Linked DNA regions of Homo sapiens: regions 2 and 3 are each linked to region 1. The links are contacts of gene promoters, found by promoter capture Hi-C in human tissues and cell types (Jung and others, 2019). All regions are on one chromosome and are shown on one strand. Each heading gives the region's core, a stretch centred on a gene start or on the middle of the fragment in contact. The rest is flanking DNA. Distances are from core to core; before and after follow the strand shown. Region 1 holds the start of C8orf34 (chromosome 8 open reading frame 34). Region 2 overlaps C8orf34 (chromosome 8 open reading frame 34). Region 3 overlaps PREX2 (phosphatidylinositol-3,4,5-trisphosphate dependent Rac exchange factor 2).

The links. Contacts are between HindIII fragments. The study calls those that stand out against the background at their distance.
Region 2: a fragment that was not itself captured here is called in contact with the fragment with the promoter of C8orf34 in region 1 in 2 of the 25 tissues and cell types used here (aorta and dorsolateral prefrontal cortex).
Region 3: a fragment that was not itself captured here is called in contact with the fragment with the promoter of C8orf34 in region 1 in 1 of the 25 tissues and cell types used here (hippocampus).

What each region holds. Positions count from the first base shown.
Region 1 is chr8:68,329,693-68,332,211 of GRCh38, reverse strand. C8orf34 (chromosome 8 open reading frame 34) reads right to left here and starts at 1,257. Exons shown (of 14, transcript NM_052958.4): 1 at 873-1,257. The coding sequence starts at 1,199. It overlaps C8orf34-AS1 (C8orf34 antisense RNA 1), which reads left to right and starts at 721. Exons shown (of 3, transcript NR_038877.1): 1 at 721-905. The HindIII fragment of the contact is 5,240 bases long and covers 1-2,519 here.
Region 2 is chr8:68,486,315-68,488,833 of GRCh38, reverse strand. It overlaps C8orf34 (chromosome 8 open reading frame 34), which reads right to left. Exons shown (of 14, transcript NM_052958.4): 5 at 783-811. Among named protein-coding and RNA genes, the nearest start is that of C8orf34-AS1, 160 kb to the right of the region's middle. The HindIII fragment of the contact is 4,532 bases long and covers 1-2,519 here.
Region 3 is chr8:68,188,847-68,191,365 of GRCh38, reverse strand. All of the region lies in intron 35 of PREX2 (phosphatidylinositol-3,4,5-trisphosphate dependent Rac exchange factor 2), which reads right to left. Among named protein-coding and RNA genes, the nearest start is that of C8orf34, 140 kb to the left of the region's middle. The HindIII fragment of the contact is 3,785 bases long and covers 1-2,519 here.

The DNA of each region.
Region 1 (2,519 bases), core at 8-2,507:
GCGGGACGCTTTGCTGGTGCCAGGCTTCAATCTCTTGTTCTCATTTTCTCGTGTCCTCGCGCTCTTCCTTCTACTGTATTTTTGTCTTAAATTCTTTAATGGCGAGAGAGAGAAAAAAAAACAAAACCAGCTCAGAGCTATAGTCTTCTTCCACAAATACGTGTGTGCTTTTCAGAACCTTTCTCCGTCCCTTTCTCCTGCTAACACATGTGGGGTCTGCAGTGCAAAGGACTCTCCTTTCGTCCAGTGACCAAATGGCAGTCTCTCAGTTTGCCAATTTCATTCATCACGCCCGCACCGACTGAAGCCTACTCCTCACCAGTTCAGCTGTCTTCCAGTTAATTGTATTAACTGCTAAGCACCTCCTCCACCTTTTCGGGTTCTATTACCGCCCTCATTAAAAAAAAAAAAAAAAAAAAAAAAAAAAAGAAGGAAAGAAAAGAAAAGAAAAAAGAAAATCCAACACGAACACTCAAGATAGCGTGAATTCAAAAAAGAAAGTGTGCGTGTGCAACACAGTCTGAGTGTGTGCATCCGTATGCGTCGCCTGCCTCAGCCTGCCCGGGTCCTGAACATGTAGCTGAGAGGTGCAGGACAGTCAGAGGGCCAAAACTTCCCCTGCCAGGCTGAGGCTGGGCCCTCCCGAGCTCACCTGTCCGCGTTCAGGTAACTGGCTAAGTGCCCGCCCGGCCGCGTTCCAGGACACCTGGCCGGGACAGAGCGAATGCCAGTGAATCCCAGGGCGCCCTCTCCCGCGCGTTGGTTCTCTAGCCCTCCTTCCCTGGGAGGGGTGGGATTGGGAGTGTTCTGTTTTCATTACTGCACCCCTTCCCCTAAAGACAACGGGACTGCCCTCCTCCACAGCGCCTTACCTCAAACAGGGGACCGATCTTGTTCTTCTCCAGGTAAGCCTGGATCCGGGTTTGCGGATGAGACGCCATGGGGAACAGATGGGACCGCGAAGAGAGTGCAGGGAGAACGCGCGGCTGTGCGCCTCCGCTGGGGACAACCCTCCTTTTACCCGGACTGGGGCCGGGACAGGAGCTCCGGAGCCTCGGCTGCCCTGCGTGGCTGGCTCGGCCCCGGCCGCGGGCGTGGGTGGCAGCCCGGGGAGCCACGCGCGCGTGGGGCGCTGAGAGCCGGAAGCCTGGGCGCAGCGCCGCCAACTCAGACAACTCCGAGGCGAGGGGAGAACTCATTCATCGCGTTCTCCGCCTCGCGCCCACCCTCGCCGCTCTCCGCAGCGCCCGGCGCAGTGGGGAAATTCGAGGCAGAGGTTCCTTTCTCCTCTGGGCGGCAGCAGCAGGAATCAGGGGGCGGGAGGCGAGCTGTGTCGAGGGGCGCACGCGGGCGGACAGGGGCCGCGGGGCTCGAACTCGCCACCGGTGTGTGTGCGTGCGTGCGTGTGTGTGTGTGTCCGTGCGCGCGCGACTGTGTGTACCTCCTTTCCCCGGTGACGGAACAAACAGCCCGGGCTGCTCCCCGAGGCTGCTCGCCCTACCAGCCGCTCCCTAGCGACAGCGCCGCTTAAAAAGCCAATGGTGAAGGTGCTTCTTTCAAAGTGCACATAAATCTGGTGCTTGTTGGCTACTCCTTGGCAGCTACAAATGCAGTTCGAAAGGGGATCGTCCCCACCGCCCCTTCTGAGCCTCTCCTCAGCACCTTCTGCCCTGCCTACTCTAGCGCAGGGGTTGAGAAGGGCAGAGTTTTGAGAAGGTGCGTGGGTTTAAGGGTTTGCCGCGAAAAAGAAGTTGCCTTCCTTTTCAAAATCTGGTTTGGCCTGGAGCAAGTCGACGGGTGAACGCAGCCTGAGAACCCAGCTGAAAACTCTCAAAGTGCAGGAGCTCAAAGGCTGGAACCAGCCTTTCAGCATTTGACAGGGAGAAGAGAAATGAGCGAGCCAGCCCTCCCCTCCAAAGTTGGCCTTCCTAATCCACGCCTTGAGTCATGTCTGTATACCTATAACTGCATCTCAGACACCACACTATCCCACTTCATAATGTTTCCTCTAGATACTGCGTGAGCTGCTCAAATTTAGCCAATACCTTTCTTATTATGCAGGGATTTCCGAGTCGAAGGTTTGCAGATAGCCCAGGCTTCCTCACAGAGCTCTCTTTCTTGTGAAATACAATACTAAGGTCCCAATGACAATTTCCCTGGCTCCTAACCATGATGTGCTGCCAAAATTAGATTTATTTCTAATAAATATAAATTTTCAGAATGATGGAAACAGTTTTCCTAAAAGCTGACTGCAGCAGTATATATTTTTTTCTTTCTTTCTTCACTGTGTTCTGGATTTCTGTTACTCATAGTTTCTTTATTGGTGTTCATGTTTTCCTTCTGTATTTTAAATATGTGGAAACATGTAATAGATAAGTGTGGAATATCCCAGGAACTATTATTAATTTCATGCATTAAGACATAAGAAATCTGCTAGAATAGCTAGGAGCTTAACCATCCCTGATAACCTGAAATGGACTTGATCCAGAGTGGAAAGATGTCCACATTAATACTTTTAC
Region 2 (2,519 bases), core at 12-2,511, 160 kb before region 1:
TAGAAAAATGAGAATATGTTTAGTTATAAATCAAATCTCTCTCATAAGCAACAACTCATATAAACATGTTTAATAGGCAATTCAAAATAAACAATCTAAATGAGAACTCTTAATGTTATCCAAACCTGACAAATTTGATTTTTTCCTAGTTTTTCTAATTTTAGTAAGCAGTACCACAATTGACCTAGTTGCTCATCTCCCAAACCTAGCAATCCATCATTGACTGATTTGTTCTGCAATTCCCCACATCCAATCCATTAGCAAGTTCCAGTGACACAACTATAGAAATATATTTCTAACCACACCACTTCTCACCACCATCATAACTACTACCCCACTTCAAAGTACCATCATAGTCTCTTGGCATCTCGGAAAATTAAAATAAACAAACAAAAAGCTTTATTGGTAAGGTTTCCAAAGAGGAGCTATCAAAAAATACAATGTTTTCCATATCATTATCATTTAGATACAAGTGGAATAAAATAATTTACATAATATAGTGTTATGAAGTTATTTTGCAATATAGTGATTCAGTGATTACAGTGATTCCATTTTCTCTAACCAAATTCTAAAGGCCTTGACTCAAAAGAGTAGGTGATATATATATTTAATGGAATAGCTTTCATAAAACAATATGCATTTAACTTTCAAAGTTTTAAAATGTTAGCCCAAATAAATTATACTTGAACATTTTATGTTTCAGAAAATTTATTTATGTTGAGACAGTGGAATAAAAGGTAAGTTCTACATTTTCTTTTCACCAGATGTATAGTTCAACTTACCTTATCGAGTTCATCTGAAATTGCAATACCTGGGATTTAAAAGAGATTTATAAAAAAAAGTTTTAGAAGCAATCTTTAGTAACCTAATGTTCAAAACAAACTTTCTATTTGTAAAAGTAGTGCATTTCCTATTCTATTTGTTTTCTTTTTATTAGTGCTTCAAAATAATGTGGCACATCCTTTTACCAATGAAAACAAATTAGGAATTTAAGTCAATTATGACAGCCATGAACTGCTGAAGCAATGCAAATGATGCAACAAAAACAAAGCAGCGCCATATTCCTTGCAGGTGGTTAAAGGCAGAACAAACTTGCGAATGTAATTGTAGAGATATCATTTTTATGTTATGATGACAATAAAGTATAATTTAGCCTGTTACTATTTTGCTCCTTGTTAAGAATTTAGATTCCCAGAATAATTAGATATTAAGGCAGAATGGTGGTCCAAGATGACTTATTCTAATGTCTTTAGTTTGTGGATGAGGAAATAGATGAGAAAGTTTAAGGAATTTTCCCACAGTCCCTCAGATTGACAGCTCCTCGAGCCAATGCGTAAATGATTCTTCATCACAAGTTCCTTCCCCCACCATCCACATATTTCTCACTGCACATCAGTATAATTTCTATCTTTATCCTTTCTCCAAAATTATTCTAAGTCAGCAATGTAAAAAGTTTAGTCCTTAACTTATTTCTCTGTGATGATACACTATCAATTCCACTTTACTGAAATGCTGTCCTCTCTTTTCTGTTCTCCTTTGTCTCCTTCACAGGAATTCCCTTTTTTGCAGGGATAGGGGTCCTTTCCTGAAATGGCAAGGGCTCTTTGTTGAGCTGTCTTTTCTTCTCATTTGATATACTTCTCTTGATAATCTACCCCATACCTTTGATATTTTTATTTCTCTATATGGCACATCTTTACTGCCAGCACAGACTTTCTTCCTGAGCTAATTGTTGAATTCTTGTGGGCATTCCATTATCAACTTGTCAGACTAAAGACATCATCCTCCTCAACTCACTCTGCGTTTTATTCTTTTGAACAATGGGGCTAAACTTCAGCACTGTGGCAGGGCGCTGGAGCAGGTGTGGCCAGCTCTCACATTCAGGGCACAGAGCAAAGGGGGGTTGGTGTCAAACCCCTGTAGGGAACGAGCCAAGAGATAAGGAAAGGTCTAAAGTTTGAAGCCCAGGAGAACTTGGAGAAAATAAGAATAGGAATTGAAGCTGAAGTTCAGCAGACTACAAAGAACAAGAAAGAATGAGCTGGGTTGGAAGAAAGAACCTGAAAGCAGCCTCAGGACAATGAACCTCAGTAGAAAGAGTGAGTTACAGGGTTCAGATCCCCTGCCTGCCTCGGGTATAGATGTGGAGGGTATAAATGATATTTCATTAGTTCTTATATCATCTCCCACACCACTAACCTAATGAATCAATTATACACAAAGCTGAAAAAGTACGCACAACTTCATCTCAGTAAATGACACCATTGTAGATCCCCTTGTAGATGACACTAGAAACACAGGTACATTTGGGGCTTATTCTTCAATATTTTATAAAATTCTTTTTTTGGTAGAAGTCATTGGTAACTAAGAATTTTTATGTGTCACATCAAAAGAGAGTCTAACTACCATTTCAGGGATTTGGGGTGACCAAAGCTTAACAATTATTCAAGGACTTGCTGTATTATGAAGGTAGTGCCTTCAAACAGTTAAAGGAGAAAAAGCTTTAAGGAGGGCTGGCA
Region 3 (2,519 bases), core at 6-2,505, 140 kb after region 1:
TTAATATTTATAATGATCAATATTATTAAAAAGTTGAAGAAATACATTTTTGTGACTATTGAAGAACGTTATCCAATTTTCATTTATTGTGAGAAAGATTATGGAACGAAGGCTCATAAAAACCTAACTTTAAACAACACTGAGGCGATTCTTTCCAGCACCAAGTTATGCTCCGATTAGAAGTGAAACTCTCTCTAAGGGTTCAATGGCTCTTTTTTATTACCAGGATACAATATGGTAATGACTATTTCAACACACAAAGTGGAATCCTAGTGGCCTAATACACTTTGTGCAAAAAACAAAGGACACACTGCAAAGGATATGATCTCATTCTATTTTATGGCTGTATAGTATTTCATGCCATTTTGTGTATTAAAATAGCCATTTTAATATGCAAAGTGGAATCCTAGTGGCCTGCAATAATTACAGCAATTTCCAAATAATTATCGCTGTGTTTGCTTTGCTTGTGGCTCGATACTAAACAGAAATTTTAAGGGAATCATCTATGGAGATAAAATAGTTACATTTTATTTGATCTAGTATCTATTTTTTTTAGTGATGGTAAAATGTATACAGTATAATACAAAATTTAGCATTTTAACCATTCTTTTAATTTATTTTAGATTCAGAGGGTATACATACATGTTTTTTACATGGATATATTACATAATGGTGGGATTTGGGCTTCTACTGTACCCATCACTCAAATAGTGACCATTGTACCCAATAGGTAAGTTTTCAACCCTCATCCCCTTCCTACCTCTCCACAAGTGGGAAGAGGTGGGAAGGGGGTTGTGAAAAGTGTGTATTGCTTTTCAACCCTCAGTATCTATTGCTTCTATCTCTGTGTAAGTGGGAACATATGGTATTAAATTTTCTGTTTCTGAGTTATTTCACTTAGGATAATGCCTCCAGCTCCATCCATGTTGCTACAAGGCACATAATCTCATTGTTTTTTACAGCTGCATATTATGCCGTTTTGAGCATTCTCAAGCATACAGTTCAATGGCATTAAATACATTCAAATTCACCATCTAGTATCTATTTTTGATGAGGTGACAAACTTCACATTTCTAGAATGTGACATTTTAATGTCGGTGGAACAAAATAAGTCCCATGATATTAGAGTGAGTTGTCATATTAGATATTCAAATAAAAGCTGATTATATTGTTGTTTCAGAGCATCTGTAGGACTTCAAAGTGTTGGTAAATTATTATCAAATTCACAGTATAATTGGGCAAAATCAGTGAGCGACAACGCTATACCCTGTGTGGGATTTTTGAGTCCCACTGAACATATGTGTTCACACCCACACACAGTGATATTCCCATTACTAGCAATAGTGTTTTGTCTTTTTAAAATAAAGTAACATGGATTATTCAAGCTTTACACTTTAAATTATGAATGCTTTAGCTCTAAAGACTAATTTCCAAAATGACAATTATGCTCATCTTTATTGAGAAGCAGTTCCTTCTTGTCTAAAATACATATTGAATCCTCCTCAAAAAGTTTTGTAAACAACTCAGCATCCAAGATTGGCTGTTACTCATTATAACTCTCTTTGCATTCCTAAGAGATTTCCAGGTACCATCTGCAGTTCCCTCAGCCTAAGCACATAACACTGATGGGAGTGTGGGGGCTACAGCAACCCCAGGCAGCAACCCACCAGACTGGGTCATGGTGACATGAGCCACTGCAAAGTGGAACATCCATCAAGTGCCATGAAATACAGTTCTAACTAGCTGAGTGAATTAGTGTCTATAAAAGCACTAGATCAAGAGCAAAATAAAAGACTGAGGGATTATTTCCATGATGAAAATCAAAGGTCTCATTTGAGACATCATTTTAAAATTTTCAAGATTTTCCCCAGTATCTGAAAGAGATATAATCTGAGAGGAGTGCTGTCATCATAAAAGGAAATGAGCTTGAATTGTGTGAGGAACATGCAATGGGGCAGGAGCTGGGGCAGAGTGAAAGAGCAAGTTAGGCCAGAGAGGTAGACCCCAGGACCTTACAGGCCCTGATAAGGTTTTACCCTAAGCAAGTTGGGAGCCACAGAGGTAAATGGCCATGGAACTTGCCTCATTGCCAGAAGACTGGACGTTTTAAATATTATTGCTATGTCCAACAATTCATGTTCTACTGAAAGGTCTGTGTGTCCTTTCACGTCAATTGTACAGGTACTTATGTAGGATTAAACTGTGAAAACCCACTTATGCACCATGCTTTAACAAGTCTGAGCATTTTGTTCTTTTGCTTCACCTTTTAAATAAATAAAATATTACAAATACAGTGGAAGCCTCCTGTTCACCTATTCTTATTTCATTTCTGCCACTAAAATGTAAACTCCCCACTAGAATGCAAATCCTCTAGTAGCTAAGGATTTTATTTATTTTTATTCATTTCTGCATCTCTAGCACCTGTAATAGTATGTGGAACATAGTATGATCTTAATAAATATTTGTAAATAAATAATAACTTGACATTTTTGTTTCTTTATGGATGGCTGATATGGTTT